Regions from separate parts of the Homo sapiens genome. Here all the other regions are linked to region 4. The links are contacts of gene promoters, found by promoter capture Hi-C in blood cells and fetal thymus (Javierre and others, 2016). All regions are on one chromosome and are shown on one strand. Each heading gives the region's core, a stretch centred on a gene start or on the middle of the fragment in contact. The rest is flanking DNA. Distances are from core to core; before and after follow the strand shown. Region 1 overlaps TMEM169 (transmembrane protein 169). Region 2 overlaps XRCC5 (X-ray repair cross complementing 5). Region 3 overlaps XRCC5 (X-ray repair cross complementing 5). Region 4 holds the start of SPAG16 (sperm associated antigen 16). Region 5 overlaps XRCC5 (X-ray repair cross complementing 5). Region 6 overlaps LANCL1 (LanC like glutathione S-transferase 1). Region 7 overlaps XRCC5 (X-ray repair cross complementing 5).

Region 1 (3,405 bases), core at 901-3,400, 2.8 Mb before region 4:
ACACACCACACACACACATACACATCACACACACCACACATACACACAGCATACATGCACACAAATGCTGCCCCCCACACATTCCACATATATACACTACACATACCCACCCACATGCCGTATGCACACACCACATATATACACATTCTACACACACACCACATACCCATACATACCACACTACACATACCACATACATACCACGCACACATACGTACACCATATACTCCCCCATACCATACCACCCACGCCTATCCACACACACACCACACATTACACACACACACCATACGACACACACAAACAGCGCACACACCCCCACATACACCACACCCACACCGCACACCACACATACACACACACACACACACACAACGCACCCACACAGAACCAAATAGCTATCTGCTGGCCACCCTAGAAGTCTGGGTGGGGATGGGAAAATACAGCCTTTAGGCAGGCATGGACCTTGGGCCCTGTGGACTCCTTGCCCCACAACTGAGAGATAAGATGAAGCCACCTAAAGAGCAGGGCCCTGGATAGTGGCAGGGACTCTGTTTACCCAGAGAAAAGGAATGTGCAGTCTCCCAAGCCCTGTCTTTTCACAGTCTTCATCACAGCAAACACCACCACCATCTATCCTCCCTGTCATTCCAGTCAATCACCCAGGAGTCATTATTGATTCCTCTCTTTCCCTCACTCCCTGCCTCTGATCAATCAGCAAGTTCAGATTGCATCCTGAATCCAGCTTCTCTTCTCCAGCTTTCTCCTGCTATCACCCGAACTTCTCCATTAGTGCTACTGAGGCTGCAGGGACACAATAGTCTCCCATCAGCATCCAGTCTTAACCCTTATAATTCATTCTTTATAGAGAAGCCAGAGTGATCTTTTACAAATATAAACAAGATGATGTCTCTTTGCTTAAAAGTCCTCCATTGACTTCCTCTTGCACTTGAAACAAATATCAAACTCTTTACCGAGACCTGCAAGGGCCACCATGATCCAGCCTCTGCCTACCTTCCTGTCCTCCTCTCACCATCCTCCCTCTTATCTCCTACACTCCCTACACTGAAATAACTCCTTTCCATAAATGGGCCAAAGCTGCTCTCACCTCAGAGGCTTTGCCCTTGCTGTTCCACCTCCTCCAAAAACTCTGCCCTAGAACTTTTCATGGTGGCTCCCTCATGTCATTTGGATCAATTCAAATGTCACCTCCTCAGAGAAGCCTTTCACAACCATGCAGTCTCTCCCCCACCACCTTCCACCCTCCACCAGTACTCATCTTCCCATCAGCATGGTTTTGTCATCTTTAGAACTCATACTACTACCTGAAAGTATCTTTTATTTGTTGACTTGTTCACTATCTGTCTTTCCCTGAAGGTCAACTGCAGGAGAGCAGAGAAATTGCTTATCTTGTTCACTGTGAGCATATGTCTTAGAGATCTATCCATCTACACAAATAGATCTGCCTCATCTCTCTACGGCTGCACAATAATAATAATTATTATTATTTTTTCGAGATGTTGTCTTGCTCTGTCACCCAGGCTGGAGTGCAGTGGCAGGATTTCGACTTGCTGCAACCTCTGCATTCTAGAAACACAGATTCTCCACCTCCCAGGTTAAAGCAATTCTTGTGCCTCGGCCTTTGAAGTAGCTGGGACCTCAGGCATGCCCCAGCACACCCTGCTAATTTTTGTATTTTTAGTAGAGACGGGGTTTCACCATGTTGGCCAGTCTCAAACTCCTGTTGTTGGTCTCAAAGTCCTGACCCCACGTGATCTGCCTGCCTTGGCCTCACAAAGTGCTGGGATTATAGGTGTGAGCCACCGTGCCCAGCCTCCACAATAATTCTTAATACAAACACATCATGGTTGCATTAGCTTCAACAAATGTTCTTATATATGCCTCCTTATACAAGGATAACATGGGCATAAGTTTCATGGAGTAGATATTGAGAATTTCTGGGTCATGAGGTATGCATGTTTTGAACTGTGAATTTTACTAAATATTTAATAAACGTTGACAAGTTTCCTCCACAAAGTGGTTGAAGCGGCTTCCACTTTCACTAAGGTGCATGAAGTATATCCATTTGCTCATATTGATGTAATCACATTTTACCCAATTTTTGGCAAGCCTACATGTGAAGGAATACTATATCTCATTGTTGTCATAATTTGCCATATGATTTTCTTCTGGCAAATTTTCTCATAATTTTCTTTATTCATATGAAAGTCAACAATTATTGTTTATTTTACATACATTAAGTAGTTAGCATAGTCTGCTTGTGTTACCAGTTTTTGCGTATAAATCAGCCTCTTCCATTTCATTAGGAATTCTGAAAGGGTGGAGATTTCTGTATCATCTAGAAAAAAATGTAATAGGTGCTCAGTAAATACTGACCATTTGTTGAATGAAGACTGTAATATTGCACCAGGTCAGTGGCTCATGCCTATAATCCCAGCACTTTGGGAGGCTGAGGCAGGTGGATCACTTGAGGCCAGGAGTTCGAGACCAACCTGGACAACATGGTGAAACCCAGTCTCTACTAAAAATACAAAAACTAGCCCGGCATGGTGGCACATGCCTGTAGTCCCAGCTACTCAGGAGGCTGAGGCAGGAAAGTCACTTGAACCCAGAAGGTGGAAGTTGCAGTGAGGCGACATCATGCCACTGCACTCCAGCCTGGGTGACAGAACAAGACTCTGTCTCAAAATAAATAAATAAAAGGTGGTAATATTGCAAGAAGAAATGTATCACCAAGAAGAAATAGGACAGTGAGCATATGCCTGTCTGTTCTGGAAGATGCCCTTTTGGTTTCCTTCCCATGGCTTTAAACAAGTGGGCTAGAGAGACTTACCATCATCCACAGGATAGTCTAGGAAATCATCTCCCTCCTCCTCTTTAGGCTGATCTCCACCTTCTGATTCTCCGGGCTCCTCATCTGTTTTCTCATTGTCTGAGCGGTAGATGATGATGGATTCTGGGCGTGACTCTTTCCTCTTCTTTTTCCTGTGCCCCATTGTGGATTCCCCATCCAGCGCCAGGGCAGCAGCCACAGCCTTCCTGAGAGAGCCCTGGTGGGGGCTTGGAAGCTGGACCTGGCCTTCTACTGCTGTTGGCTCTTCCATTCCAGACCTGACGTCTACCTATGTCTTATAAAGAGTTGGACTTGTTTGAGTAAACTCACAGTTCACACATCACAGAACTTCTTCCTAGATGGGGCTATGCAAAGATGTCCCAAGGATGCATTCCACCTGAAAGATAGGAAAGCAAAGCCATCAACAGGAAGCAAATGGGGTGAGATGGACAGGAATGTGGGAAACGATCCTCAACTTAGCAGAAGCCTTCCTCTCCCTTTACTTCTTGCAATACTTTATTTTGGGAATGCAATCTAAATCTCTTATAATA
Region 2 (3,461 bases), core at 325-2,824, 2.9 Mb before region 4:
GTTTCATTAGTATCCAAAAACTGTTCGATGTGATTTATGAGCTGGTTACTCGCTAAAACATAAGACAACAAATTTTCTTAGATTTGAGTGATGCCTGAGAGAGGGTATGCTTCTGTGTTTGTGCCTATAAGTATGTATTATAGTTCACAAGCCTCATGGTCAGCAAGCACAATTGCCATACTTCTTTTAGGGGAGAGATGAGATGCAAAATTCTGATTTCAAAACTCTGTATTTGCAAAGTCTGAATGATACCTATTGATATTTGTCAAGAAATTAATTTCTAAAATGCTGAGAATTATAGTTGAAATATTCCTTTTTGGGATGTCAGAACCTAGGTTGTAGTTATTTTTAAAACTGCTGTTGTTGTTATTTTATTTTCCCCCAGAATTTAGGGGCCATTTGGATAATTCAAAACTGCCTTTCCTATTGTATTCACAGAAAACAGATCCTCTAGTCCCTCCCCTAATTCTACTCAGGATAATTGTCGAACAGTGCTGGGCAGTGAAAAATAATGAGCCAGGGACACCCCATCTTCTACCAATCCAAGGTTAAATTAGAAAAGATCAGCCCTAGTCTTAACAAAATATCCCTTTCGAATGAGAAATCATTGCTATCTACCTTATGCCCTTAGCTGGACCTGAATATTCTCCCTATTGCTCACTACTCCAAAAGCCACAAATACTTAATAAACAGTAACTGTCAGCAAGCAATGTCATAAATGCTACAGAAAGAGAAAATGCATTCATAGTGTTATCATTTCCAAAGTAGATTACACCTTACAAAGAAACAAAAAATTCTTCAGTATGAATAAAAAGCAGAGGAAAAAGGAAATCTAAAAGTCATGAGGAAACTTAATGCTGTGCAGATCAAAACTGACCCTTAAGATCTGTGTGTGGAAGAACAAATCAGGGAGATGTGGGTAATCATGCCTAAAGGCTCCTCTCCCTTGTCCCCTGAAACCATTCACTAGCTGTGGCTGTTTGGCAATTTATGCTGAATGTTCAAGATATTCTATGACTGCCTGTTTCCCCAAATCACAGCCTCCTGTGAGCATTCTAGCAGCTACCTGTGTATGCACAATGCTAAAGAAAACTACTTTCAAGCTTTACCAATAAAGGCCCCAGGCCACTAACTCTGTGAATCACAGTGACCTGAACATTACTCAATGCCTTCCTTATTAAAAACATGAAATCGGTGCTAAGAATCTACTTATTTCCTAAGGACCATACAGCATGTGGAAAGGATTAAAAAACTGGATGAAGTATTTTTTAATACAGCAATTTTCTAACAAGGGAAAAATATCCCCAGTAACCGTTTCATCCCTTCTACCAACTCGGAGATTATGATCTCCATTATAAGAAAGCACTTAACAAACTTGAGGGATTAAAGAAACATTTCCCTGCAATTTCAAAAATCTTTACCAACGTATCCCGCAGCAGTGAATTAATATCCAATTACAATTCAAAATAGAGAGAGAATGTTCAGATGAACCTTTTTAAACAAGGTAAATAATACAACCCTGATTAGTAGGCAGAGCAGAAAACCATCAACAAAAGCTCAAAGCAAACAGAAGTTATCTCCCCTTTTCAGCTTGAAAAGCAAAGTAACAGAAATGTTTGATAACAGAAAGCGGTGTACTTTCCCAGATCATCTGATACAAAGTTCACTCGAGGTTACATATTTGGGCACAAATAAAAACCTTTACAGGCCAAGGGCAATAATCCTAGAGACTCTAAATTCTCCATTTCTTTTGAAATGAGAATAGGAAATCTTAGGAAGCTATAATATAAATGTTTCTCTTTGTTTGATAGTATATACTTATTGTGCAACTACTATGTAGAAGATACTATGTTATGTTCTGTGGGAGACAGAATTAAGTTGAAGACAAGGCCCTTGCCTTTGAGGAGTTTGCAGTTGAATAGGGAATATAATGCATATACATAAAATTAACACTGGGAAATAATGTGAAGAGGGCTATGAGTTTTAAGGAAATATATTAATTGGTTTGAATTTTTAAAAAATCTTTGGTGATTACAGAAAGCTTCACAAATCAACATGGCTTTTTAGCTAGGCAATGAAAAACAGAATTTGGCAATTACACAGCAGGAAACACAATTAGCCTAAGTATGAAGAAGAAAGCACAAGCTGTGTTTGGAGAAAAGCAAATGGCCTCATACATGGACAGAAATAGGGGAAGAAAAAAGAGTGAGGATTAGACAGCAAATGGCTGGAGGAAAGGGAGTTCCAAGAAGAGAAAGTGTGTGTGAGAGTCCTGAGGTAGGGGTACAGCGTGGCTCCTTAGAAAGTGTAGAAGAAAGAAGAAATTTTAGCGGTTGGATAGTGGAAAGGGAGCTGAAGAAGGAGGCTAAGAAGGATTAGTCAGAGAGAGAGAGAGGGAGAGACAGGGAGACGGGGAGAGAGAGAGAGAGAGAGAGAGAGAGAGAGAGAGAGAGAGTGTGTGTGTGTGTGTGTGTGTGTGTGTGTGTGTGTCAGGAGTTCATGGCATCACAGATACTAAGAGAAGAGATTATTTAAAGGAAAGAGTTGTCTGCTGTGTCCAAACTACTGCATAAAGACTACACGGAAAAGAGTAAAAAGAGCATAGGCAATTAAGGATAGAAACGTAGGGAATCCTAAGAGCTGGGAGCCCATGAAACAACTACACAGGTACTAAATTGCTTTGCGAAAAAACAAAGCAAAACAAAAAACCAAAACAACCAGCTTCCTGACTCATTTTATCCTGAAATATGATAGAACACACACACACACACACACACACACACACACACACACACACACACACACACACAGTTGCTATCTTACAGAGAAAAATATTCAAAAGAAACAAAAATAAATACCCAAGCCAACAATCCATTTGCAACGATACAGGAAAGAAGGCAGTCCAGTCTACCATAAATTCTTTGTAAAAGGAAGTAGCAGGAGTCTCAATACCCAGTTTCTTTGTAAAAAAAAAAATGAAGTCCTAATGTATCTGTGGGCCTATGTGGATTTAGTTTTTCTTATTTACATGTTAGACTGTTGTGCTCTTTCCTCCAGAGGGTTCAGAAACACAGATGGATAAACATATCCAAACTTCCAATAAACCCAAAGAATACAAACAACCAGATTTTGGCCTTCTAGGAATACTCAGTTACGTGGCTTGTAAATCTGGTCCATGATTCTAAATTCTGTCCCTCTACCCAGACTACTTTTGTGGTTCACTGACTATAACGAACCATTTAACACCAGGGAATAGCTGTGATGGATGACGCTTGAATATACTGAGTATCAAAAGGGATGTAAACAAGAGACTTCCTTTCCAAAGTTTTGTGGCACTTCACATTTCCCTGCCATTTTTAATAAAAGTAAAATGCAGAAATGGCTGAAAAAATAATATTCTATAATATTTGGCTGGAATATGCTTTTGACTCCCCTGCCCCACATAAAGGAAATGCTGATCA
Region 3 (3,489 bases), core at 200-2,699, 2.9 Mb before region 4:
ACCAAAGAGGAACTGGAACTCAAGGCAAGAATGAGGACAAGAAAAAAAGAGAATAAGGGCTTTGTTATTTTCTTATTTAGTAAAGGAGACACCATCCACAAAGATGAAAGCTGACTTAGGTAGAAATGGGAAAGACCGAAAAGTTACCTAAGTGTTTTAATATAACGAAACTTTCTCTCTTTGAGGCTTGCAAGTAGAGAACAGTGAAGTGATATAATTCTAACTACTGTAGTAAATTTCTCAGTTTTTGAGTTTCTAAAGGTTCACTGATATGGCAGAGATTGGGCCAAAAGGTCTTTTCTTCATGAGACCACCACCATAACTCACTGCTTAAAAGGAGTATGAAGGGAAATTGTGCTCCCCTTCCCACCCCACTTAAAGAAAACCACCTATATACAGAGGCAGAGTAATGTGGTAACTAGAAGGCCTCAACTAAAAAGAGAAGTGAGTCCGTCCTTACCCATGGTTTTCCTAACCCAGCTGCTTGTTGGGAGGAAGCAAATGCTACTGCTTGCTCAACACAAGTTGTGACAGCTGTTGGAGGATCAGGCAAAGGAGGACTCTGGAAAGGGTTAAGAAACTCATCAATAACCATGCCATGGTTCCACATGAGACACTAATCACATCACAAGGGCTGCAACTGTCACTGATATACTAGGTCAAGAAAAGATCTACTTTCCAGAAACTTCAAAGCATGTATGTAATATACAAAGATCAGTAAGACCACAGAAAAAATAATACACCAACCAGAAAATAACAATGACTCTTTATAAACTTGTATGGGGTCTAAATTATCCCTTGTAATATATATGTGTGTATTCATTCCACAGAGAATTAGATGATCCGCCTCCAGGTAACCTGCTGGGAATTTCTTGAGATTTTGGCTCCCCTTGAATGGCCGCATCCAACTTGTTTTGTTAGAACTCCCAGCATCACAGCGATGGCAGCTCTCTTAGATTCCCCATACATCCACGACCTATATCATGTCCAACTGTGAACAAGAACAACACACTTAGAAAGGAATCAGGCCAATTTCATACCACTGCTTCTCTGGTGAGAGAGGGTTTAATGAAAATGACTCTACATTGGAAGGCATGCATGTACTTGCTCATTTATTCACCGCTCATTATTTTAGGAGTTAAACATTCAAGTATCCACTCATTTTAGTAATGAGAATGTCTCTAAAAAAGATTGACATCATAGTACGTAGTGTTTGTTGGTCAGTTGTCATATGAAGCTTAAAGGCGGGAAGTTTCCAAACATTAAGGATAGATACAAAAGACATTTACTACACAGCTTCCCAGACATCAACAACATGGTGTAATGGGGTCCAGAAATCCTCAAATGCCTATCGGTCTATTTTGTTTACATTAAGTTAATTGAGAACATTTAAGAAGTAGCCCTTTTAAGGGCTGTTTCATTTGTCAACCCACACAAACTGCATGTTGTATTACTTATTTTTGGTTAACAGCAATTTCAGTGAATTACAACATTTTGCTACTAATGGAATAGCCTCCCTAGCTCTTTTTCAGCCCTTCAAGGGAGAGGATTAATCTGAATGAACAATATAGCCGACACCATGAAACACAGGAATTTCTATTATGAAATTACCTATCTGATTGAATTTATAATGGCAATATATAATGGTGTAGGAAGCTTCTGGTGTATTGGAAATTAAAACACAAATAAGCAACAAGTGTAAGATAATCAGCCTTTGTGGCTGTATTTACAGCTCAGGTGACTTCAATCATAGAACACCAGGTGCATATTAAAAGTACTTACTAAATCGTCCACATCACCACCTTCTTCAAATACAGCTGCTGTGTCTCCACTTGGTTTGTCTTTGGGGGCCAGAAACTGTAAATAGAAAGTCAGTTATCATACCAAAATGATATTTTTGCCCCTTTGAAAGAGGGAACAATCTGCTAGCATTGCCACAGCAAAACCTAAGGCAGCCTGCTTAGCAGTCTCACTGCCAACGGCCCAAAAGAAACATCATCCTGGCATACGCTACTTCATTTGGCTTTGGGTGAGAGGCCCAGTTTTGAGGTTCAAGTAGTCCATACTAACTCATCACCAGAGAAAGTGCTCACGAAGAGGGAGGAAAGAACATGGCTTGTCGAGACAGTGTGTAGTGTCCTGTATAAGCATGGTGGACATCTGCTGTTTCCAGTTCTGCTTCCATAGGAAATAAGCTGGCTTGCTAAGGTTAAGAAAATAACCAACCACCCCAAACTAGTATGCTCTTTTGAAAGGAGCATGAGAATCAAATCAAGATTAGAATAATCTCAAGTTGAATGATGAAGAATCAGGAAAAAAAAAAAAAAAAAGCTTAGAATAATCTACTCTTAAATTCCACTGTGGACAAAAGCAGTAAAAGGGGGACTTCTCATAAGAAACGTGAAATGCAAAAATGAGTGAGCTTGGAAGGTTGTTTGATTCCTTTTATGGAAATCTTTCAATTTGTGTTAGAAATTGTTTGAAAACAGGCAGATGAGAAATGGATGAGAAAACCATTCAGCATCACTGTTCTAGATCTGGAGCTTCTGAAAGGCAGATACATAGTAATACAGCAAAGTCCAGGAAGTGAAGTCTGTGAGGATCTAGGAATGACACTCAGATTTTAAAAGGGTAGTGAGGTGAGTGCCCTTGAAAATTATCTGAACACTCTTTTTCCATCCTGTCCCTCCAAGGGATAGCAGTGGGGAGCCTTTTCCTTCAAGGCATGTGGCAGCTGCCTCTAAGAGCTGGGTTCTAGCAATGCATATCTATCTAGCAATGCCTATCTATCCTAACACGAGAAGGTGATTTTCTGGTAGCATGCCTGCCTGTAGGAGTGAGTGTTTTAGAGAGGGCAGTGGAAAGTGGGGCACTTCTACTTTTCCTTTGGGGGCCAGAAACAGTAAATAGAGAATCAGTTATGGTACCACAACTGACTGGCCCCTAGAGGCATTCTGGCATTCTTCAGGCTGAGAGTGCATGGAGCAGGCACGCGGTGAGAGAGCCTTCCAGCCCACTTATGCTCTCCTGTAGTTGCTTCCACCCAAGAGGAAAAAGTATAATTATACTTTCCTCACTCTCAACATGAAAAAATGGTAAGAGCTGCCATTCTCTACATTCCTGTTACTTTTATGGTACAATGGACACAATCATGACCTCTGAAACCTAAGACCTATAAATAAACTAAAATATGTCTCTTTAAAAAGTCAAACCAAAGTCAACCATGAAATATGAGGCTGCATGTGGCAAGTTTCAGGAAGCAAGAAAGCTCTGCCTGTTCTTCTAGTCCTCATATACAAAAACACACACAGGTAACAAAGTGATAACAGTGGAGGCTGTGTCTGCCTTAAGGTGCAGTGCCTTTGTCAGCACCATGGACATAATTGTTTGTTGACTCAACCACTCTCTTGGACTTTTTTTCCCTCAGTTAAGACCACCTCACTATTCATTAACTTCTTTTATGACTGAGCGAATAAGGAATTTATCTTC
Region 4 (3,411 bases), core at 850-3,349:
GACTTTAAACCAAAGGAAGTCTCACTTTGGCAACTATCATAATTGCCTTAAGAAACAATGTCAAACAACATTACACAGGCAACTCTTAATTAACCATGTGAAGAGTGCCCAGGGATACAGGAATAATTGGTATTCACAAGTAATCCTCAAACTTCATTTCAACTGAGAGTTGAAATGACTAAACCTCTTCCCTCAGCATGGAATATAGCAAAATAAACTGGTTAAATGTTTAACTGTGTATCCCCTGACTACCATTTGGTTAAAATACAAAATAGCAGTCAGTCAACCAAAGAAAGAAGAAAAGCAAATGGGTTGGATAATTCACACAACGGTTAGTAAAATCCTAAAAAGTTACAGTTGCTTATATGTGTTAAAGTTCAAATAAGTGTGATTATTTGAAAAAGTCTTTGTAAGACAGGTTTGCAAACTGCTACATCTTGGCAGGTGTGACTCAGTGATCTCCCTGCACATTAAGTAAACCTGATTTTCATTGCTGAAAGTTGTGTTATGTTAGACTCCTACCATTTATTTCACAAAGATGTTTGCAAAAAGTTACCTCATTGTGTCAATCTCATGTTAACAATTAAACTATGTGTTCACGGAAATAATTTTAATGCAAACAAAATTACAAGATGCCTGGTTACCATTCAGTAGCAAGGGCACTGGATATAGATAAGCTTAGGAAGAATTATGAAAATCGTTGTTAAAGAGGAATATCACTGGAAAAGACTGCCTGTTACATCTACGAAAACAGTATAAAACCTCATTTATGACACTAAAGCACCCATATATTTCTTTCAAATTCATTTCAAGCGATTCAAATTTCTATTCCTGTAAAAGTCGTTTTTGCACCCAATAAAATACTACATATTTTCTTTAATCTTTCAGCTAAATTCTTCAAAGCTCTCTGTAGTGTGGATGTGTACTGAGCCTGAGTCAGGACAGGTTAATCGGCTTGTCAAAGCTCACGAAATGAATCATTGCTGGATTTCTGAAATCTTGAATTAAACCTGGAGAGGATTACAGTTGGACAAACAAATAAGATTTGGCAGATTTTGGAGTTTCCTTGGTATCTTTAAGAACTGAACAGATAATCATCTCTTTCTTACCTCCCTGAATAAAGGAGTTACATGTCTTTTTCTCATGAACCCTCCCCGTCTCCCTAGTAGGAATTAATCTATATAACTAGAGGAAAGAAGTTCTAAAGCCTTACACAAGAAATAGTGGACCTAATTATCCACACATTGTTATTCAATTTTTCTGGTACTTCCGATAAAAATCGCTAATCACCATCTGCTTTATTCCTAATATCTCTGAGCTGTGTAGCTCACCAGATCATTATTTATTTGCTCAAGAAAAAAAAGCAACTATACTATTAGTATTTATTATTAAGTAGTCAAACTTGGAACTACTCAGGAAGATAATGCTATCAAAACTAAGCATTTAAGCATTAACTGGACCATCGAACAGGATCGTGGGTTGGGTATTCTGAGCTTCAGCTCCTTAAAGTCCAATGGCAGAGGTCTTTCCCTAGTCTCCTAACGTTCCTCCGTTGAATTTATTGGGACGGCTTTCTGAAAGATTGAGGGCTTATTTAGGAAACCCATTATTTGAAAGGAGGGTTGAAGCAATTTGTTGTGCTGTCTTAACATAAAAAGCAACCCTCCATCCAAAATGTACTGAGTGGTTACTAAGTATGAGGCCTTGGAAGGTCTCCCAACTCTTCTAACAGGTACAGGACACCCTGGGCTACTAAGGGCGAGAAATTCAGTGAGTGGCTCTCAGGAAGACTGTGGTGGCAAAAACAGCACCTTGAAGTCCAACAGAGGCTCCTCCGGAGTGGCCCCAAGGCTCAAAAGGCGCCGCCAGTGGGAGGCCCTCGCCTTCGTCCCAACACCCATTACCCGCCAGCGCAGCGGGCCGCGCCTCCACGGGAAGGATACGTTCCAGGTAGTAGGCGCCCTCAGCCGCCACCGCGTCCGCCGTGTCCCTCGCGTCCCCGGCTGCCGTCAAACCCATGCCCAACGCCTCTTCCAGGACCCTCACGGCGGAGCTGGGCATCCCTCGCTGAGCAGCCATCTCTGGCGCTTCGGGCCCCCACCCCCAGCAGGCCCACAGCCGTCCCTAAGGGCAACAGCGAAGACGCTACCCAACGGCCCCCGGGAGCTCTCGCGAGATTCCGGCATCTCTCACCCCGCCCCACGGACCAGCCCCGGGCACGTAAGGGTTACCGGGAGTCCAGGGAGCTGTCGCCCTCCCGCGCCTCCCAGTTACCGTGGCAACGATGTTGCCTAGTTAACGCGAGAGCTCGGGCGCAGCTCTGGGAGCGGACAAGATACAGTAAACAATTGGCTTGCATTGCACCTTCCTACCCAAGCAGCTTGGTTTTCTTTCGCTTTGACCCTGTAATTTCTTTCCCACTTCGTTGTCGTCTCTGAATTACCTTTCTCTTGATTCTTGCCCATTAGCATCCTCCAATTTCAGATGTTTGTAGATCCCCAAGTGTTCCCAGGGAAAACTACTAGAAAAGGTGAGTTCTCAACACCTGGAATTTTTTAAAAAATGAAAAAATAAAGTTCTAGAAATCATAATAGAAAGACTGACCCAGGGGAGCTACCAGACGCTCCTCAGATGCTTAGCAATGAAGAACTATGGTGTTCAGCTTTGTCAATTCCTTTCTTGTGATCTTTAATGCATTTAGCTGGACATCTGTTTTGAGTTTGGTTCCATATACTAAGACTTGGAATAGTATTTGTAGCATTGATTCTCGCCAAGGTAAAAACAGTTGCATAAAAATTATGAGCTACAAATTTGGTCCTGACAAATGTATGCAGTTGACACTTGCCCCATCATGTATAGTCTTATTGCTGAGAGGATCTTCCTCAGGTTATATCGCGTATGTATCAGAAGCAAATTCAAGGCCCTTTTCTTTGCAAATATTTTTTTTTCCCTTAACTTTTATTTTAGGTTCAGGGGTACAAGTGCAGGTAAGCTCATGTCGCAGGGGTTTGGTATATAACTTATTTCGTCACCCAGGTACTAAGTGTAGTACCCAATAGTTATTTTTTCTGATCTTCTCCCTCCTCCCACTCTCCTCCTCAAGTAGGCCCCAGTGTCTGTTGTTCCTTCTTTGTGTCCATTTGTTCTCATTATTTAGCTCCCACTTACAACTAAGAACATGCAGTATTTGGTTTTCTGTTCCTGCATTAGTTTGCTAAGGATAATGGCCTCCAGCTGCATTCATGTCCCTGAGAGGACATGATCTCATTCTTCTGTGGCTGCATAGTATTCCATGGTATATGTGTACCACATTTTCTTTATCCAGTCCGTTGATGGGCATTTAGGTTGAATCCATGTCTTTATCATGAATATCAATGAACACGCATGTACATGTGTTTTTATGGTAGAACA
Region 5 (3,406 bases), core at 557-3,056, 2.8 Mb before region 4:
CTGGCTGGGCTGGTCTCGAACTCCTGACCTCAAGTGATCTGCCCACCTCAGCCTCCCAAAGTGCTGGAATTACAAGCATAAGCCACCGTGTCCAGCCTAATTTTTCTTTGTGATATCATGGGTAATATGTTTAGCTTAAGGCATTTATTCCAAAATTTGAAAGAGAAACAACTTAGGAACACATATCTGTAAATATTGTGACAAGAACACATTACGCCAAGAAACTTCACCTCACAGGATTCCTCACTGATTCCTAGGGCAATCCCGTGGGCAATTCTGTTTCCTAAATTTACCTATCATTTTTCAAGGCTGTCTGTATTTAGAAAATCAGAACATAATTTTTGTCAATTATAGCTCATCAGAAATATTAAAAATGGTCGTTTAGAAAAAATATTAAGGAGATATACACTGTAGCTACTTAAAAAAATTCTAGTTGTTCAATCACTACTTCAATGTGCTTAAACAGCCAGTATTTTGTGTACAGACTGATAAGCTGGAAATAATTCAAGAATATCAAGCAGTATTACCCCTGAGAATTTGAACCACCCAAGCCATACTGCTATGTAAAGTACTCTATTGCCACTTTTACCAAATTGAACCCCATAGGACACACACTATTCTAGATGCCACCGATTCTTCTTAGGTTCTTTGCTCAAAATGCATGTATGTCCAATTCCAACCAAGAATAAGATGGATAAAGGAGATGGTCTCTTCCATAGTCTCTAGCTGGATGGTTGAAAAAGCAGTTTGCTTTATTGTTATACGGTACTTCAAGGAATTCACTTTTCTTAAATCATTTTGCCTTTCCAACGCCCACGTAAAGTAAGTAGGCTATGAACTCTTTACATTGCAGGTTTTTTTTTTTTTCACTCAATCAAACTGCTTTGTGATCAAAAGTTTAAAAAAAAAATCACTATACCATAGTATGCTACTTTCTAAAACCTTAATAGGATGATAAGAAGATACTGACTATCTCAGATCTGAGACCACTTTCTATAATTAATAATGTTTTTTGTAGATGTGTAAAAAAAAAAGGGCCCAAAAAATGTATCCCAAGCTTGGCATAATGAAGAAATCTACTATTTCATCTTTTGCAATTTGACTTGTTAATTTCTCATGGTATCTATATATTCCTGAACTTCACTGACACAGGTCCTGGAAATAAATGAGAAACATGTGCCAAGAACACAAACTTTAAAAAGGGTGATTAAGGGTGGGTGTACTATTTCTTTAATAAAACTCAGAATATTAAGCAATGACTAATTAGAGAGTGGCCCAGAAAAAGGAAACATTTGGGAGACCTCTAATCAAAAGAGAAATTTACGTGGGTACAATTAAAAATTCCCATCAATGTTTTCAATTCTTACCTGAATGAATAAATTTCATCCAACCCATCTTCACCTTCTAAAGATATCATCACCATTTTCACTATCTCAAGACCTTCTTTTTGCTGTTCGGTAATTCCTTTTAGTGGAAAGGAAGGCCCATGGCCACCTAAGCGAAAGGGGCCATCTCCTCTGTCCCCACTTCCATCTTCCTTGCCAAGTGAGAAAGGCAAGCTATTAAGAAAGATCAACAGTAGTTAGTGTTCTAATCCTGTAACTGTAACTCATCAGCTATGAGAAAATGAGCACATCAGTCAACCTTTTCAAGTTTCAAATTTCTCATCTGTCAAACGACTCTTACCTACCTTAGCCAATATTCTCCCAGTTTCAAGTGACTGAAACCTCTTTGGTTTGTAAAAGGGGAAAATCACTGGCTACTACATAACCAAGTAACTGAAAGGGCAGGGTGGCACAAGGCCTTAGGAAGTCCAGACCCAGGGTCTCAACTGTGGCAAGGATTACTCTCTCTGTCTCTATTTTACCTTCATTTGCCTTTATGCTGGCTTCACTCTCTCCGACTGGCCTCTTCCACACTGTAATGGTCTACACGTGTCCCCCAAAATCATTATTTTGAAACCTAATCACCAATATGATACTATTAAGACAGAGGCCCTTTAGGAGGTAATGAAGTCCTGAGGGTGGGGAACTCATAAATGGAATTAGCGACCTTAAAAAAAATGGTTGAAGGGAGAGGCTTTTTGCCATTTTTGCCTTTTATGTCCTTCCACCACGTGAGAACAGTGTTAGCCCTTTTGACATGGGATGACACAGCAATAAGGCACCATCTTGAGAGCAAAGATCTCTCAGCAGACACCAAATCTGTTAGTGCTGTGATCTTGGACTTCCCGGCCTCCAGAACTGTGAGAAATAAATTTGTTTTTAAGGTGATTTCTCATTTTATTTGCTACACTTAAAATAAGGCTGTTTACAATTTTTCTTCATATACTTAGCAAATACAGCATGATGTAATTTGCATGTCCTGCATTTATCAGGTAAAAAGTTTCCAGGGAGGAAAGTGTGAGACACAGGGTTTGCATCAGGTTACTCCTGTTTTCAAAGCAATAACCAGAAAAGGACAAATGTCGTAAAAGTGAAGAGAAAGGAAGTTATCCTGGAAAAAGAAATAATAACTGTTCTGTCTATTCTGCGTTAGATCAGAAATAAGCTTCCTCAGTAGTCAGTAGAAGAAACTAAAAACTGTGCCAGGCACAGTGGCTCACGCCTGTAATCCCAGCACTTTGGGAGGGCGAGGCAGGTGGATCACTTGAGGTCCGGAGTTCAAGACCAGCCTGGCCAACATGGTAAAACCCCATCTCTACTAAAAATACAAATATTAGCCGGGCGTGGTGGCACACACCTGAAATCCCAGCTACTAGGGAGGCTGAGATAGGAGAACTGCTTGAGCCTGGGAGGCGGAGGTTGCAGTGAGCCGAGATTGCACCACTGCACTCCAGCCTGGGCAACAGTGCGAGACTCCATCTCAAAAACAAACAACAACCAAGAAAAACTAAAAACTGCTGGGTGTGGTAACATGCATCTATAGTCTCAGCTATACAGAAGGCTCCGGTAGGAGGTTCACTTGAACCCAAGAGTTTTAGGCTGCAGTGAGCTATAACTATGCCACTACAGAAGACGTTTCTAAAAAAAAAAATTAAAAATAAATTAAAAACAGAACACAGGGCTTCTCTGAGCTGCTGGTATTTTTTTAGTCCAATTACAACAATCAGCTGTACATGGAATACACCAAACAGTAAAACTATGAACTCTACTTTGTATGCTGGAGGTTTGTAGCACAGGAAGAAAGCATATTACCAAGAAAAAAATACAACCAAATAAAAAGCAAATAGAAGCAAAGGCTATGCTTCCTCTTCTGCACTTTTCTGTATTGCTCATGGAAAAAAAGAGTAGCTCTTTCGAATGACATTCACTGAAATGCAGTCTGCTTCTAACATGTAAAGGCATCCTGAGATTATGAAAAAGGACCAGAAGCTGTGCTGGGCTTCTGAAGTACTGAGAAAAAC
Region 6 (3,239 bases), core at 79-2,578, 2.8 Mb after region 4:
TCAAACCCTGGAGATCTGTCCTCCTTAATTTCTTAACACAAGATTTCAGTAAGGAACTGGTCTGTTTTCTGGCATCTGTCAGAAAAAAATAGAAAAGAAAAAAGGACTTTTAGAGACTTCAGATTATAGCTAGAGTTTGAATGATTTGGTGGTGTACCACAAGCAATCAATATTCTCACAGAGGTCACCTTTATTAAATGCAGAATGTGCCAAACAGAAAGTAACTTCCCTTCATAAGGCTGAGAGATTCTCATTATTCTTGATCTCTTGAAGGCCAGGCAAGATGATAAATTATATATGATCTATATACAGTAGATGACGTGTTCTCAATATAGATGCACTCTTCTATCTAGCTGAGATTTATAGGCCTTTTGTATTAACATTGAAGTATATTTTATCCTACTAAATGTATTTTCAAGTCTAGTTGAAATCTTAACCTCTTTGCAGAAATTGTTAAATAATGGGAGTGTGTCTGTCAAACAACGTCGTTTCTTCTAAAGAGTGAAATAAGGGATCATAGTGGTGCTTTAGATTAAATAATCCAGATGTGGTTGAAAGTCTGATTTGCCTTATCAAGGATGCTCCTCCGAAGTGAATCTTAACGTATCCTTAAACTATTGTTGTTGTTGTTAATTCTGATACTGCCTTCTTGCTGTTTTCAGTGTTAAGATTTTATCTCATTTTTAAAAATGAGATTCTGATGTGAGTGGTTAGGTTTATTTCTACAATCCTTACATGGTAAAATAAAATGTTTATACCCTTGTAACTTTCCCCCACATTGTTCTGAAATTTTAATTACTATGTGAAATTCAAGTCTTAGAATCACAGCAAGTTCTTAAAATTATTGAGGGAGACAATAAAGTGAGTTTTTTGGGTTTTTGTTGTTGTTGTTGTTGTTGTTTGAGATGGAGTTTCGCTCTTGTTGCCCAGGCTGGAGTGCAGTGGCACGATCTCGGCTCACCACAACCTCCATCTCCCAGGTTCAAGGAATTCTCCTGCCTCAGGCTTCCGAATAGCTGGGATTACAGGCGTTCACCACCATGCCCGACTAATTTTGTATTTTTAGTAGAGATGGGGTTTCTCCATGTTGGTCAGACTGGTCTCGAACTCCTAACCTCAGGTTATCCGCCCACCTCGGCCTCCCAAAATGCTAGGATTACAGGCATTAGCCACTGTGCCCGGCCTTCAGTGACTTTTTAAGACACTGATTCAGTGTGTGCAGAAGTTTAAAATTATTTTTCATTTGCCTTTAAGAAGAATAACGTAATGATTGTGTGAGCCTCACTGTTTGCACAGCATCTGTGGACCTTCATATGGGTGGTACTAACCCCACAGCCCCAGCCTTAGTGTATTTTCAATCCATATCTAAACTATTACTTGCCTTAGACCCTTGATCTGCTAAAGAATTAGTAAAAATGTCAACATTTACATCCCTGAATGAGAAAGACTTGTGATACACTATCTCATTTAATCCCCAAAGTACCTTTTGAAATTGGCGTGGCAGTTATTATTATCCTGACTTTATGGAGGTATTTGAAACATAAAGAAGTTATGAGTTGAGCAAGATCAGCTAATAGCGGGTAAGGATGTAGACAGGCTCATTCATTGAGAAACATTTGTGAAGCCCGTATTCTCTGCCAGACACTGTGCTGGACGTGGGTTTATGATGCTAAGTTTGATATTCTTTCTATTCTGCTTAAGGCTCTTGATATACATGAATTTGTTTTGCTTTTCTTTGGCTACTTCATTTTTTTTAAATCCTTTTTTTTAAATAAGAGCAATTAGATGTTTCTTTAGGGAATTTACCTTGCTGCAGCTTGAATACTAAAAATCCAGTAGTTTGAAAGCACCAAACATCTGATTTGTGCTTAATTTAATAAAAAGACTTTATTATAATATTGGTTTAAATAATAGACGATTACTATTAGGTGGAAAATTACTGTGAGCCAGTTTATCATTGGCAGTCTGTTTTAGTATTTAACTAAAAATTTTATTTAAAACATGTATAAGTTACAACGGTATTTTATAAATTTTGTTAATGTGATGTTGTTGTTTAAGAATAGAAAATAAATTGTTTAGTCTTCCAGGTGGAAAAATATGTCCTAAGTGGAAAAGAAATACCTTTCTGTCTTTGATAGCTTATAGTCCAGCAAGCTGGGTGACCCACATTATTTTGATACTTGTTTTCCTTTAATATCTAGCTGACTCCTGAGTTCTCACAACGCTTGACCAATAAGATTCGGGAGCTTCTTCAGCAAATGGAGAGAGGCCTGAAATCAGCAGACCCTCGGGATGGCACCGGTTACACTGGCTGGGCAGGTATGAAGTGCTGACTGTGAGCTGGCATAAGCATTGTGCTTAAGAGCCAGAGCATTTTTCCGAGAGCTGTCTGTCTGAATGGTACACCCTTAAATGCTTCCTGCATCTGCATATGAGTAATTGCTTCTGGGAGAGTGCTGTGCCCTCAACCCAACCAACCATGGTATCTTCTGGGTTTTTAATAGTGCCCTGAATTTAGGGCATGGTAAGCATATTCATGTAATTCATGCCTGACATTTGGATGGCTGCTATACTTGTGAGGAGAAAAATTGATTTTCAATATTACATAGTTAATTTGCAGATGTAATTTCAGTGGGAAGAATTGGGAAGAGTTCCAAAATACAATGCCTGAAGCGGAGGTAATGAGGATTGATCTCAGGAATAAAATATGTCCAGAAGCATGTTTTAAAAAGTTAACCCGTAACAGGAATCCATACAGGAATCCATACAGGGTAAAGTATTACTTCCATGAACTAATCCTCCCATATGGTCATTGCTGTTTGGTTTGCAATTGCTGCATTGCCAATCTCAATCATTGAGAGGCTGGAGGAGGTTTAGGAAGAAACAGTGCATTGATGTCAAAAAAAGGTGAGAAAGAGAAAAATCAAAGAAGAGGCTGGGCGCAGTGGCTCACACCTGTAATCCCAGCACTTTGGGAGGCCGAGGCGGGTGGATCACGAGGTCAAGAGATCAAGACCATCCTGGCCAACACTGTGCAACCCCATCTTTACTAAAACTACAAAAATTAGCTGGGCATGGTGGCTCATACCTGTAGTCCCAGCTACTCAGGAGGCTGAGGCAGGAGAATCACTTGAACCTGGGAGGTGGAGATTGCAGTGAGATGAGATCACTCCACTGCACTCCAGCCTGGTGATGGAGCAAGACTCCATCTCAAAAAAAAAAAAAAAAAAAAAAATCAA
Region 7 (3,249 bases), core at 421-2,920, 2.9 Mb before region 4:
GCTCTGTTGCCCAGGCTGGAGTGCAGTGGCATGATCTCAGCTCACTGCAACCTCTGCCTCCCAGGTTCAAGAGATTCTCCTGTCTCAGCCTCACAAGTAGCTGGGACTATAGGCACACACCACCACGCCCAGTTCATTTTTGTATTTTTAGTAGAGATGGGGATTCTCTACTAAAAATGTTGGCCAGACTGTCTCGAACTCCTGACCTCGGTTATCTGCCCACCTCAGCCTCCCTAGGCATCTATCATTAGATACGTTTATATATGCAAATACCTCTTTGTTACAAATGCCTACAGTATTCAGTATAGTAACACACTGCACGGGTTTGTACCTTGAGGACAAAAGGCCATACCACATAGCCTAGATGTGTAGTAGATTCTACCATGTGGGCTCGTGTAAGTACACTCTGTGACATTCGCACAACGAAATTGCCTAATGACACGGTTCTCAGAATGTATCCCTGTCGTTAAGTGAAGGATGTCAGTTGCTCAAAGTGCTTTAATATCTTTGTTCATTGTTATAGTATCTCTTGAGATTTTTCTTTAGGTGAAGAAAATCTCATAAAGGTAAAATTATTTCACCAAAATCATATCAAGTGAAAAAACTGGAATGATTCCCAGCTCTTAAGATGATTAAACTTCCTGAACAGACATTTGTCCACTCCTGATCTTAGCCCCTCTCCCCTCCACTAGAAATATGTACCCTGGATCCAGAGATGATGAATATATACAAAAACATTGCGAATTGTTGGCAATTTTTTCTTTCCTTGGAAAAACTACCTCTAGAACTGACTGGAGCTTTATCATCAAAATTGAGGGGTTTTAGAACCTTGTAGAAAGGACTGAACCATTCTTCTTGAATACAGGTGGTACTCAATATTTGCTAAATGAATCATTTCCACAATTCTTAAAAACTAAGCTTTCTCAGAAGAGAGAGAGAATAGGAGCGTGAGCAAGCGTGTGTGAGTAAGATACTTCTCAGGCCCCTGCAAGATTAACTTAGCTATGCTGCGAGCCATTATGGGAGCAAAGAACAAGAAGCTCAGCACACCCAAGCTTCCAGAAGAGTGCCCAGCAGGACCAGAGCCAAAGGTGTGATCATAGCAGGGATCAAACGACAGAACTGCATCCTTCTGGGTCTGGGTGGTGTGCTTTTTTAACTAGCTAATTTACATTTTAATCAAAGGGAAGAGCAGAAAATGGCCCATTTCTTTCCCACAACACCAGAAGGTAATCAAGATCACGGACTGGAGATTTAACACACAGAGAGAGAATAGCCCTGTGATTGCAGTGAGACTTCAGCAAGGTGTCATAGAAAGAAAAGGCTGCAGACTTTTATTGAACTGTTTTAAAATACAAATCCAGAAGGTAGATAAGGATAGCAGGGGGAAAGTGAATTTTTAGGGACAGTCTTCTTGTGTAGAACGATAGACTAAACAGAAATGAAAACCTCTCCAGGATGTGTAAGAAATGCACATCATAAAATCTATCAAGAAACAATCTATCAATTTCCTTGAGAGATGGTCTTATGGGGGGCGGGCAGTTGGTGCGGCGGAACCAAGTACATGATTTTTTTTTTCAATTCTGACAAAGCTTGGATGTTAACCTTTAGAAAGTCACAGAATGTGCACAACTTTCTATTCAATTTAGACAGTAATTCTCTAAATCAATGATTTATAGAAACCTGTGAAGACTTCCGGAAATTACTCAATACTTCTCCACTGGGGTATTTATAAATAAGAAGCTTTGTCAATAAAGATAGTTGTGGAGAGAAAAATCAAATAAAAAAGGGGAAAAGATTCATGGTTTAAAATCAGATTTCAAAATACAGCCAAAAGAAATGTATAGATTATTCCAGCTTGAGAAAAAAAAGTCACCAATAACTGGTTGACCTAAACCTGGTAAAAATCAATTTTACATACTCAAATAATTCTGGATAAGCAACAACAATTTCTTCTTGTTTTATTTTTGTTTTGTTTTGAATGGAAGCTGACACAGATTGTGAACAGAAGAGGGAAAAAACTTAATAGCCAGTTGTAAGCTTGATTTAAGTGTATATGAAAAGCATTTTGCAATACTTAAAACTACAAACACCTCCCCAATAGCACAACCAAATACATCACTGATACACTAATAGAACGGCTGAAGAATTGATAGTTTTTCACTCTTGTTCCCACTTTTCCTCCAAAAATCTCATTGACATCCCCAACATCTAATCTCCTCCCAACCCAAAAAACCTATGATCTTCAACACACTCATTCTCAGTACTTTACTTTAAAAAGGGTGACATTTAGCCTTAGATATTCAGAAACTTATCTGAATTATACATTATATATAATTCACCAAGAATCTGATGCTGATCAAAAAGTCATCAGCCCAGAAGGTAGCTCTAAATCCAAAGTGAACAGCAAGGATAAAATATGATCACAGCAGACAGATATAAGAAATCAATATTTCAATATAAGGGCCAAATAGCAAAAGGCTTCTTCCTCTCACCTTTTAAATTCCATAGACCCCTATGTGACACTTCCAGAGCCACTCTAAAATGACCACAACTCTTATGTACCCCAATGTTAAATGCAACTATACCAAGTACTTACTTGTCTTGGAAAATTTCCTGAGCAGTCACTTGATCCTTTTTCTTGGCTTCAATCAGAGGAAAAAGGGTCTTTATTTTAGAGAGAGGAATCTGACTTTTTGTTGTCACCTCAGCGGGAGGATTCAGCATATTCCAAATATGCTGCTGAATTGGGGGTAGAGGCTCCCGGGGATGTAAAGCTCTGTGCAGCAGACACTGTTGGAAAAAGTAAGGATTTTAAAACACAGATGGAGACATATATGGCTTCTTTATATTTTCTGATCAGGGATCCTCCATCTTTAGTGTGGGAGGGCTAAGTGATTCATACCACATGTAAAAAACAATCAAGAGGATTCACCTAGAACCACCTTTGTTGGCAGGATATTGGTCAATACCTAAAACCAATTGTAAAAATAGATCCAAGCCTAGCAACAGTATCTTCTGCTCTGGACCTCCTGGAAAGGAGCCTCACCTTATAAATCAAAGCTGTTGTTTTTACTACTTGGGGAATATACAAGATTCCCTAAAATACCTGATTCTAAGACCTGATAATCTGGGATTATAACTTTCTTGTTATAATCCTTTTATCTCTCTTAATCATGCTGTGCTTTCTCCCTCACTTAATCTCAGAGAATGCCATGTGGTGGATGAAACAGGTGGCTACAGGGAAGC

The links. Contacts are between HindIII fragments. The CHiCAGO score rates a contact against its expected background, and 5 or more counts as called.
Region 1: a contact is called between a fragment that was not itself captured here and the fragment with the promoter of SPAG16 in region 4, in 2 of 17 cell types (total CD8 T cells and naive CD8 T cells). The highest score is 6.7, in total CD8 T cells.
Region 2: a contact is called between a fragment that was not itself captured here and the fragment with the promoter of SPAG16 in region 4, in 3 of 17 cell types (naive CD8 T cells, naive CD4 T cells and activated CD4 T cells). The highest score is 8.0, in naive CD8 T cells.
Region 3: a contact is called between a fragment that was not itself captured here and the fragment with the promoter of SPAG16 in region 4, in 2 of 17 cell types (total CD8 T cells and total CD4 T cells). The highest score is 6.3, in total CD8 T cells.
Region 5: a fragment that was not itself captured here is called in contact with the fragment with the promoter of SPAG16 in region 4 in 6 of 17 cell types (naive CD4 T cells, total CD8 T cells, non-activated CD4 T cells and 3 more); the score reaches 15.5 in naive CD4 T cells.
Region 6: a contact is called between a fragment that was not itself captured here and the fragment with the promoter of SPAG16 in region 4, in 1 of 17 cell types (naive CD8 T cells). The highest score is 6.7, in naive CD8 T cells.
Region 7: a contact is called between a fragment that was not itself captured here and the fragment with the promoter of SPAG16 in region 4, in 3 of 17 cell types (naive CD8 T cells, total CD4 T cells and naive CD4 T cells). The highest score is 12.9, in naive CD8 T cells.

What each region holds. Positions count from the first base shown.
Region 1 is chr2:216,095,684-216,099,088 of GRCh38, reverse strand. TMEM169 (transmembrane protein 169) reads right to left here. Exons shown (of 3, transcript NM_001142311.2): 2 at 2,855-3,251. The coding sequence starts at 3,125. Among named protein-coding and RNA genes, the nearest start is that of XRCC5, 12 kb to the left of the region's middle. The HindIII fragment of the contact is 5,460 bases long and covers 1-3,405 here.
Region 2 is chr2:216,186,816-216,190,276 of GRCh38, reverse strand. It overlaps XRCC5 (X-ray repair cross complementing 5), which reads right to left. Exons shown (of 21, transcript NM_021141.4): 17 at 1-52. Among named protein-coding and RNA genes, the nearest start is that of LINC01963, 28 kb to the left of the region's middle. The HindIII fragment of the contact is 938 bases long and covers 1,106-2,043 here.
Region 3 is chr2:216,202,690-216,206,178 of GRCh38, reverse strand. It overlaps XRCC5 (X-ray repair cross complementing 5), which reads right to left. Exons shown (of 21, transcript NM_021141.4): 20 at 1,783-1,857; 21 at 1-991. The coding sequence ends at 977. Among named protein-coding and RNA genes, the nearest start is that of LINC01963, 12 kb to the left of the region's middle. The HindIII fragment of the contact is 419 bases long and covers 1,240-1,658 here.
Region 4 is chr2:213,283,152-213,286,562 of GRCh38, reverse strand. SPAG16 (sperm associated antigen 16) reads right to left here and starts at 2,099. Exons shown (of 16, transcript NM_024532.5): 1 at 1,944-2,099. The coding sequence starts at 2,079. It overlaps SPAG16-DT (SPAG16 divergent transcript), which reads left to right and starts at 2,354. Exons shown (of 3, transcript NR_161186.1): 1 at 2,354-2,530. RefSeq lists enhancers at 1,697-1,776, 1,847-1,896, 1,937-2,066. The HindIII fragment of the contact is 3,357 bases long and covers 680-3,411 here.
Region 5 is chr2:216,120,215-216,123,620 of GRCh38, reverse strand. It overlaps XRCC5 (X-ray repair cross complementing 5), which reads right to left. Exons shown (of 21, transcript NM_021141.4): 6 at 1,368-1,559. Among named protein-coding and RNA genes, the nearest start is that of XRCC5, 13 kb to the right of the region's middle. The HindIII fragment of the contact is 1,493 bases long and covers 1,060-2,552 here.
Region 6 is chr2:210,471,039-210,474,277 of GRCh38, reverse strand. LANCL1 (LanC like glutathione S-transferase 1) reads left to right here. Exons shown (of 10, transcript NM_006055.3): 3 at 2,202-2,319. Among named protein-coding and RNA genes, the nearest start is that of LANCL1, 4.1 kb to the left of the region's middle. The HindIII fragment of the contact is 4,098 bases long and covers 1-3,239 here.
Region 7 is chr2:216,147,627-216,150,875 of GRCh38, reverse strand. XRCC5 (X-ray repair cross complementing 5) reads right to left here. Exons shown (of 21, transcript NM_021141.4): 14 at 2,600-2,793. Among named protein-coding and RNA genes, the nearest start is that of XRCC5, 40 kb to the right of the region's middle. The HindIII fragment of the contact is 151 bases long and covers 1,595-1,745 here.